2 separate regions of the Homo sapiens genome follow, and region 2 is linked to region 1. Evidence: promoter capture Hi-C in 16 types of primary human blood cells and fetal thymus (Javierre and others, 2016). All regions are on one chromosome and are shown on one strand. The core of a region is centred on a gene start or on the middle of the fragment in contact, and the rest is flanking DNA. Distances in the headings are between cores, read along the strand shown. Region 1 holds the start of DENR (density regulated re-initiation and release factor). Region 2 overlaps CLIP1 (CAP-Gly domain containing linker protein 1).

Region 1 (4,766 bases), core at 1,008-3,507:
GCAGTGAGCCGAGATCGTGCCACTGCACTCCAGCCTGGGCAACAGAGCGAGACTCTGTCTCAAAAAAAAAAAAAAAAAAAAAAAAAAACTTGTAAATTTGACATAATTTCAAATGTACAGAAAATCTACAAGAATAGTATGAAGAAACTCCCATGTGTTTACCCAAAATCACCAAACATACACACTTCTCACATTTGTTTTAGAATTCTCTGAGAGCAAGAGTGAGAGAAAGGTTCTAGAATACGTTGTTTTATCTGCAGGATCCAACTATTCTTGAAACCAAGATCTATTCCTGAAGGGGTGGGTTGCCCCTCCACGCCTGTGGGCATTTCTCGTCAGGTGGAACGAGAGGCTTGGAAAAGAAAGAGACACAGAGACAAATTGTAGAGAAAGAAAAATGGGCCCAGGGGACCGGCGTTCAGCATACGGAGGACCCGTGCCCGCACCGGCCTCTAAGTTCCCTTAGTATTTATTGATCATTAGCAGGCATTTCCCGGACAGGGGGATGTGCCAGGATAATAGGGTATAATAGTAGAGAGAAGGTCAGCAGGAAAACATGTGAACAAATGTCTCTGCATCATAAACATGGTAAAGAAAAAAGTGCTGTGCTTTTGATGTGCATATACATAAACATCTCAATGCCTTAAAGAGCAGTATTGCTGCCAGTATGTCCCACCTCCAGCCCTAAGGCGGTTTTCCCCTATCTCAGTAGATGGAATATACAATCGGGCTTTACACCGAGACATTCCATTGCCCAGGGACGAGCAGGAGACAGATGCCTTCCTCTTATCTCAACTGCACAGAGGTGTTCCTTCCTCTTTTACTAATCCTCCTGAGCACAGACCCTTTACAGGTGTCGGGCTGTGGAATGGTCAGGTCTTTCCCTTCCCACGAGGCCATATTTCAGACTATCACATGAGGAGAAACCTTGGACAATACCTGGCTTTCCTAGGAAGAGGTCCCTGCGGCCTTCTGCAGTGTATTGTGTCTCTGGGTACTTGAGATTAGGGAGTGGTGATGATTCTTAAGGCGCATGCTGCCTTCAAGCATTTGTTTAACAAAGCACATCCTGCACAGCCCTTAATCCATTTAACCCTCAGTTGACACAGCACAGGTCTCAGGAAGCACAGGGTTGGTGGTAGGGTTACAGATTAACAGCATCTCAAGGCAGAAGAATTTTTCTTAGCACAGAACAAAATGGAGTCTCTTATGTCTACTTCTTTCTACACAGACACAGTAACAATCTGATCTTTCTTTTCCCCATATATTCCCATACTCTTACATTTTTCTTTTTTTCATTAAAAAAAATTGTAGGCCGGGCGCGGTGGCTCACGCCTGTAATCCCAGCACTTTGGGAGGCGGAGGCGGGAGGATCCCTTGAGTCCGGGAGTTCGAGACCAGCCTGGACAGCATAGGGAGATTCCCCCACCTCTATAAACAAATTAAAAATTAGCTGGGTGTGGTAACGCGCGCCTGTATTCCCAACTACTTGGGAGGTCGAGGCTGCAGTGAACCGTGTTTGTGCAACTGCACTCCATCCAGCCTAGGTGACAGAGTGAGACCCTGTCAAAACATAAAGAAAAGGATGAAGGAAGGGAGGGAGGAAGGAAGGAAGGGAGGGAGGAAGGAAGGAAAGAAGGAAGGAAGGGAGGGAGGGAGGGAAGGGGAAGAAAGAGACAGAAAGAAGAGAAAGAAGAAAGAAAAGAAAGAACAGAAAAGAAAGAAAAAAGAATTCCTTTAATTTAGTGTATGGTGTTAAAACGCAACCAAACGCTCCATCCGGCGAAGAGAGAGAGAAAAGAAGAGAGGAAGGAAAGAAGGAAGGGAGGGAGGGAGGGAGGGAGAACACCTTCCTTTAATTCAGTGCATGGTGTTAAAATGCGACCAAACGCTCTATCCGGCTGCAATCTCCCCGCACGGGAGTGATTTATGCAGTAGCTGGAGGTTAGTCAGGACTCCAGGATGCACCGCAGACACCGAGGCGATGATCCTCGGACTCATTAATAGGGAGTCATTTGTGACTCAGGTGCGCTCTCTGCGTCTGCAAGTCACGTTCCCTTCGGCACGCCCATCTCGAGGATTCATCCTCTCCAACGGGTGACGAGCACCGCCTGCCGGCGGCCCGCCTCTCGGCCTCTTGGCCACGCCCCCCACCGGAGGGCAAGGCGCACGCTCCGCAATTTTTCTCCGCCCCCGTCTTCCGGCTTCTCGCGACATCCGCCCAGCGGCGGCCGGAATCTCGCGATAAAGGCTCATTGTCTCGCGGGAGCGCTGCTGGCGGTCGGGCGCTCGGGCGGCCCTGGCCGGGGAGACGAGTTGCATGTGTTGGTTCAGCTGGCGATAGCGGCGGGAGCGGAGCCGGCGGGGCCTGTGCGACCGCCTGGGTAACGACCCCAAGTGCTTCTCCCGCTCCCGAGAAGCTCGTAGAGAGTGTGGGGGAAGCTGAGATGCTGCCTGGCGGAAGGGGGCCGGGCCGGGCCTCTCCACACCCCCGCCCACAAGGGCCCCTTCTGGCGTCCCCGGGGTTGCTCCTTCGCCTCAGACCTGGTCGCCCTTGTCCCCTCAGTGCTCTTACATTCTGCGCTCGTTTTCTCTCCTCATCCTTCTTACGCTCTGGTTACCCCGCCCCCTCCCATGCCCTTTTTAGACTCCCCAGGCCCCTCTCATGGCGTTTAGTTGCCCCCACACCCTGCACCCCGGGCTTCTCCGATGACCCACCCCTTGTTCCTAGGCACTTCCAGCCTCTCTCCATTCGGCGCCTTTGTAGCCCTTCTCTCACTGCAGTTTGCATCCCTCCCAGATCACCCTCAGACCTTTTTGCTCCGTGTCTGCCGTGGGTACTCACCCCATCTTTCCTTCCCCATTGCTTCCTGTTTTTCTCTAGTGAGTCCCTCTGCCCCATCCTTCATGGTCCATTTGCTGCTTGCTTCCCTGTAGACCTGTGGAGCAAGGAGATGTTGTGCCTGGGATTGCTCATATTTTATGAATCGAATGCAGCTTGTATCCCCCACTCAACAACAGACTTGAAACAGCTTTGGGGTGGGGAGGTTTCTGTTGAGAGGAACACTGCTCTTCTGGGGTCTTGATTCTAAAATAGTGAGGGTGTGTTATTTTCCTTGCTTACAGGTTTGTGAAATGGCTGCTGACATTTCTGAATCCAGCGGGGCTGACTGCAAAGGAGACCCAAGGAACAGTGCCAAGTTAGATGCCGATTACCCACTTCGAGTCCTTTATTGTGGAGGCAAGTGTTGGTAGCCACAGAATGACTTTTACTCACTATACTTTTATGCATTGTAATAACAGTTTGACATTTGGTAAGCTTTCTTCCCCATCCTTTTCATTTGGTGAGTTTGTACTGGGGGAGAGGAGTCCTGGGGAGGAGGAGGCATGAATTAACAGAGTTTCCCCACCTGGGTGATTTGTGTCTGGCTACTCTGCCTGAAGAAGCTTACAGTCCATTTGTAACAGGATGTGCAACTAGGTTATTTCAGCCTGAAGGTCCTCAAGGTGTATGCTAGTCTAGCTGTCAAAGGAGGGCTTCTTGGAAGATTATGAGTTAAGGATGGCAAGGACTGGATGAGAAGGTGGGGAACGGCGTCCCAGACAAAGCGCACGACTATGTAAGAAAAAGCTTGATGGCTGTCTGTGAAGAAGTGAGCAGCTTTGAGTTTGTCTGGTGTATCGTATAGGGAGGGTGGCCCGTTAAGGAGTGGGAGAAGGTGAGGTTGGAGTGTTGGGTGGTAGGACAGTGAGGAAAGTCTTCTTGGTTTGAATCATGATATATGTATTAGGTTTAATCAAGATCTTTTTCACTTTCGAGTGTTTTTCTTCATTTTCAATATAGAAATATTTGTGAATTGTAAATGCTGTATGTATTCGCATCTTGGAAACTTTCAGAAAAATCTGAAGATACAGGACAGTAAAAGGGCAAGTAAATATTTTTTCAGTAAATATTTCTCAGAACTTACTGTGTGCCTAGTGATGTTTTAGGTGCTGGGGCCTGAGTAGTGAATAAGTCAGAAGATCCTTGTTCACGTGGACCTTACATTCTGTGACTGCAGTAGAGACCACATCTGACATTTAAGTACCGTAGAAGGAGAAATGATATCTTTTTGCCATTAAAAGTAATGGCAAAAACTGCAGTTACTTTTGCACCAACCTAATCATTTTTTGAGCAGGAAAATAAAGTGACAAGAGATTAATATGCTGCATTATTTGGAGGAAATAGAACCCACAAATTTGAAGGCCACTTTCAGAAATCTAGGTTTGAGGTAAATAAGTGCCTTGCTGAGAGTGTAAGCAGTATAAAAGTGAATAAAGAGGGTTAATCAAAGAAAAGATACAATGTTTAATGGTGAAAAAGGAAAAAGATATTTCACAATTGAGAGAGTTGAAAAACCAGAACACCACTAAAAATGATGACTTTGAGAAAGATTAGATTTGGAGATAGATAATAGGCTGACTTGCAATACAGTGAATTTGAGTTTCTCCAAATGGAAGAATCCAAGTATGCTGCATTTGGCAGCAGAGAGAGACAGTATATGAGCTTTTCTAAGGGAGAAAGAGAGAAAAGCCAGAAAGATTCTTGGGGTGTACCTGGAACGAGGTGAACTGGGTAGATTTCACCACATAGAGAATTGCTTAGTTGGTGAGAAGTTTGGAAGCTTAGTGAAAATGTCAGTCTCTAGAAATCTTGTTTTATTTTTCTGTAATTATGAATTAAAACTAAGGGGCCGGGCGCAGTGGCTCACACTTGTAATCCCAGC
Region 2 (4,766 bases), core at 1,298-3,797, 350 kb before region 1:
GGACAGCTCCGGAATAGCCCTGTGTATCTTTGTGAGGAAAAGGCAAAATGGCCAGGCTGTTGTTTCCTCCCTCTTAAGAGTTTTGAAGTTTGCAAGCCAGCACAGAGTAAGAATTAGTGACATTTTATTATTTCTAAGTGCTTAAAAATTCTGAAATTGAAGGGAACTGTAACAGGGACTCAGAACAATTATCTCAATGGAATCACTGGTAATTTTTATCTGTGTTTTCTTGGGTCTATAGAAATTTTATTTAATGAACAGGTATAATTAATTTCACAGGCAGAAAAAAAATTCTTTTGAGCCACAGTAAAACGGCTTCAACCGAAAGAGTGAAGAAACAGACTCTACTGAGCTGCTTTCTCCACAGAAACAAGAGTGCAGTACAGCCAAGCCAGGATGGAAGTGAATACATATGGAGAGGGGGAGAGGGTGGCTAGCTGTTCACCAAGACTTTTTTGTTGTTGTTTATTTTTTTTTTTTTGAGGCAGAGTCTTGCCCTGTTGCCCAGGTTGAACTGCAGTGATGCACTCATGGCTCATGGCAGCCTTGACCTCCCAGACTCCAGCCATCCTTCCACCTCAGCCTCCCAAGTAGCTGGGACTACAGGCAGACACCACCACACCCGGCAAATTTTTTTTTTTTTTTTTTTTTTTTTTGTAGAGATGGGGTTTTACCATGTTGCCTAGGCTGGTCTTGAACTCCTGGGTGCAAGCGATCCACCAACCTTGGCCTCCCAAAGTGCTGGGATTACAGGCGTAAGCCACCGTGCCTGGCCTCTTTTTCTTCCTGGATTCACACCATATTTCCCAGCTCCCGCTACAGTTCAGTATGATCACGTGACTGAGTTCTAGCCAGTGGAATAAGTGTGTGAGGCATGTGCCACTCTAGGCCTAGCCCAGAGGAACCTACTGTGTACAATCCCCCATGCTCTTTGCCCTTCTGATGGCTTGATGGAGACAAGCCCAGCAACCTCGAAAGCATGTACTGAAGACAACAGAATCAAAAGATGGAAGAGTTCAGGCGTGTGGCTCATGCCTGTAATCCCAGCACTTTGGGAGACCAAAGTGGGTGGATCATCTGAGGTCAGGAGTTTGAGACCAGCCTGGGCAACATGGCAAAAACCTCTCTCTACAAAAAAATACAAAAATTAGCCGGGCATAGTGGTGCACGCCTGTAATCTCAGAGGTTGCAGTGAGCCAAGATCACACCACTGCCCTCCAGTCTGGGCGACAGAGCCAGACTCCATCTCCAAAAAAAAAAAAAAAAAAAAAAAAAAGGAAGAAAGAAGTCTAGACACCTGAATCACCTCTCCCCATTTTCCCATCAGTAAATATGTATCCTAAACTTTTCCAAAACTGAAAATCAACTTATCGGCCACGCATGGTGGCTCACACCTATAATCCCAGCACTTTGGGAGGCAGTCCGATCACAAGGTCAGGAGTTCGAGACCAGCCTGGCCAACATGGTGAAACCCCATCTTTACTAAAAAAAAAATATAAAAATTAGTCGAGAGTGGAGGCGCATGCCTGTAATCCCAGCTACTCAGTAGGCTGAGGCAGGATAATCGCTTGAAGCCAGGAGGCAGAGGTTGCAGTGAGCCAAGATTGTGCCACTGCACTCCAGCCTGGGCAACAGAGTGAGACGCCGTCTCAAAAAAAAACAAAAAAAAAAGAAAATTAACTTATCAGTTTCAGCCACTGAAATAAGTGGGCTTATATGGTATAGTGGCAAGCTTATTTTATGTAATACAGTGGCAAACAGATAAAAACTTTGCTTAGAGCTTTGAATCATCTTGGCCAAGTAAATTCCTCAAATAAATTAATTTTAAGGGACTGGGCTTGGTGGCTCATGCCTGTAATCGCAGCACTTCGGAAGGCCAAGGCAGCCGGATCACCAGAGGTCAGGAATTTGAGACCAGCCTGGCCAACATGGTGAAACCCTGTCTCTACTGAAAATACAAAAAAAAAAAAAAAAAATTAGCTGGTCGTGGTGGCAGGCGCCTGTAATACCAGCTACTTGGGAGGCTGAGGAGAATAGCTTGAACCCTGGAGGTGGAGGTTGCAGTGAGCCGAGATCACGCCACTGCACTCCAGCCTGGGCGACAGAATGAGACTCCACCTTAAAAAAAAAAAAAAAATTAATTTTAAGGACGAGCCTCTAAGATTGAAATGCTTTATATCACAAAAAGCATTATAATGTGAATAATTAAAGTACTATATTTTTATAAAAGCAGAGACATTTTACTCGTAAGAACAAAATATGTTTTTAAAACACACAAGTTTGCCCAGGCATGGTGGCTCACACCTATAATCCCAGCATTTTGGGAGGCCAAGGCAGGTGGATCACTTAAGTCCAGGAGTCTGAGAGCTGCCTGGGCAACATAGTGAAACCCCATCTCTAAAAAAAAAAAATTTTTTTTAATTAGCCGGGCATGGTGGCGCCTGCCTGGAATCCCAGCTACTTCGGAGACTGAGGTGGGAGGATCGCTTGAGCCCAGGAGATTGAGTCCAGCCTAGGCAATATTAGCAAGACTTTATCTCTAAAATCTTTTTTTAAAAAGTTTAAGAAAAAAAGACACTTATTATAGAAAATATATATTTTAATAAAATCTAATCCCCCTTCCTCCTGACCAGATATCCAAAAAAAAAAAAAAAAAACCTTAAGCAATTTACAGAAACAAGAGGTTCCACAAAACAAGCAGTTCCCAAAAACAAGAATGGTGAAAATTATGTTCATACAAAAAGCAGTAATATTCTTCATATTCTCATCTGATTTCTTAAGGTTATGTTTACTCCTATTTTTTAAATGTCATGGTTCAAATAAATAAAAAAGTATGAACAGAGAGCTGGACTAGGAAGTGAGACACCTAAATTCCACCCCAGTTGGATGACCCTGAACAACTCACATAACCCCTTCCCCGGCTCAGTATTCCCAACTTCAACCTGAGGACACTAATTAAATAAGATCTGTTTCTAACTCCATACCTTCACAGTTCTAGTCCTGTTTTGGGTATCAAATCCAAATCCTGTAAGCAAAAGGTCAAGGATTCAGAAGTGAAAGGAAAGACTGTGGCTCTAACTTTGCCAAAGTGAAAAGTACAGACCTCTGCCATCAGTGAAGAAAGAACCCAGATCTGATAAGAGCTTCAAACAGGCTCAGCACCTCCTGGCACACATAGAGCGGCATCACGTTGCCCCAAGAAAATCACATCTCTACACATCAGACCCTTTCCAGTCCATTTTGCCCCATCCACAAAATGAAAATGCCACTTTATTTACTAAATCTAAAAATTCTGTTGGGAGGCAAAGGAGAGTTGAAGAATTTGCAATGAATTTAACCTGCCAGGAGAGGGAGTTTAACACCAAGCTTCCAGAAACAGGCTGCGTGGTAGCTACAACGTCCAGAAACCCAGGTTTCAACGCGGCCCTGCTTCAAGACCCAAAGGAAATTCAGCACCAGGCGGGTGAAGTGACTTACCTGTGCACAGCTGCACTCGCAGACTTCGGAGCCCCCACCTAATTCTAAAATGCTGTATGTCCATGAACTTAATAACAGAAGGTCAGGGGAGAGACGTTCTGAGAGCAACGGAAATCTATCTTAAGATAAAGATGTTTCTGAGGCTGATTTTTCAAGTCAAACTTGAGAGAGAAATTCAAAGGCTATGTTCTCATATCATATTCCTGGGTTTGGGAGGTTCATTCACAGCTTAATCCTGTCCCCTGAAGTCACGGTTACGTAAGTATGCTGTGTCACTTGCTGTCCCCACCCCCAACACAGGAGATGCAGTGTAACCTGAGCTCCTCGGCTTGAGCCACTGAAAACACTTACACAACGCTGGGACCTTTCCAAATTGACTTGTTTCCCCTTAAGAAAGGGCAAGCTATTTGATTTTCTTCCTTCCACTTCATTCACATTCATATTTCTGTATATACAGAAGAGACTGAAAAAGATAAATAAGATTGAAGGGCATTTGCAAATTTTCTTCAATTCTTGAGTAAAACAAAAAAGTCAACTATCCAATGTCACGGAAAAGTAACCAAAAAAAAAAAAATTATGGGCCTGCTTAGCCCCAATTTAAAAACATCACATCTCCTGGCTGAACTGAGCTTAAGGTCCTTGGACGGGCTTCATTTCCCACGTACTGGCTGTTTCTAGAGCCAGGCCCCATACGCTACTGCCACGCGCAGCATACTGCCACACAGAAGGGCTTTGGGGGCACATGGGAAATGGCTCTCCAAGAACACAGGAGACACATCAGCAGTCTCTTCTGACTACTCTTCTTGCCCTCTCTTCCTTCTCTGGACTACTCCAGCTACTGGGCAGCTTCGATTACGGAATGATGACTCACACGCATTCCTGTCTTGTTTGCATATCATGCTATGACTAAGCTCCATGAGATTTGATTTGTCTTCGCATCCAACGAATCTAAAAAAGTTTGATACACAGTAAGAGTTCAAAAAAGTTCTCAAGTGAGTCAACAGCAAAACAAGAATCCATAAAATTATGCAAAATGATGCGATTTTCAAACTAAAGCATCAAGTAACTGTATCTTACACTCTAAACACTTGATAAACACAGAAGCATTACAGGGTTTCCCAACTCCGGATCCTTTTTTTTTTTTTTTTGAGACAGTGTTTCACTCTTGTCGCCCAGGCTGGAGTGCAGTGGCGCGATCTCGGCTCACTGCAACCTCCGCCTCTCGGGTTTAAGCAATTCTCATGCCTTAGCCTCCCAAGTAGCTGGGATTACAGGCACGTGCCACCATG

What was found. The method cuts DNA at HindIII sites, captures the fragments that hold promoters and counts their contacts. A CHiCAGO score of 5 or more calls a contact.
Region 2: a fragment that was not itself captured here is called in contact with the fragment with the promoter of DENR in region 1 in 1 of 17 cell types (total B cells); the score reaches 5.6 in total B cells.

The regions. Positions count from the first base shown.
Region 1 is chr12:122,750,567-122,755,332 of GRCh38, forward strand. It overlaps DENR (density regulated re-initiation and release factor), which reads left to right and starts at 2,258. Exons shown (of 8, transcript NM_003677.5): 1 at 2,258-2,384; 2 at 3,127-3,241. The coding sequence starts at 3,136. RefSeq lists enhancers at 754-1,615, 2,707-2,766 and a silencer at 2,517-2,566. The HindIII fragment of the contact is 18,243 bases long and covers 1-3,317 here.
Region 2 is chr12:122,396,304-122,401,069 of GRCh38, forward strand. All of the region lies in intron 1 of CLIP1 (CAP-Gly domain containing linker protein 1), which reads right to left. It overlaps CLIP1-AS1 (CLIP1 antisense RNA 1), which reads left to right. Exons shown (of 3, transcript NR_045382.1): 2 at 280-402; 3 at 2,993-3,641. Among named protein-coding and RNA genes, the nearest start is that of CLIP1-AS1, 3.1 kb to the left of the region's middle. RefSeq lists enhancers at 3,656-3,715, 4,184-4,233, 4,254-4,313, 4,271-4,766, 4,334-4,383. The HindIII fragment of the contact is 1,634 bases long and covers 1,731-3,364 here.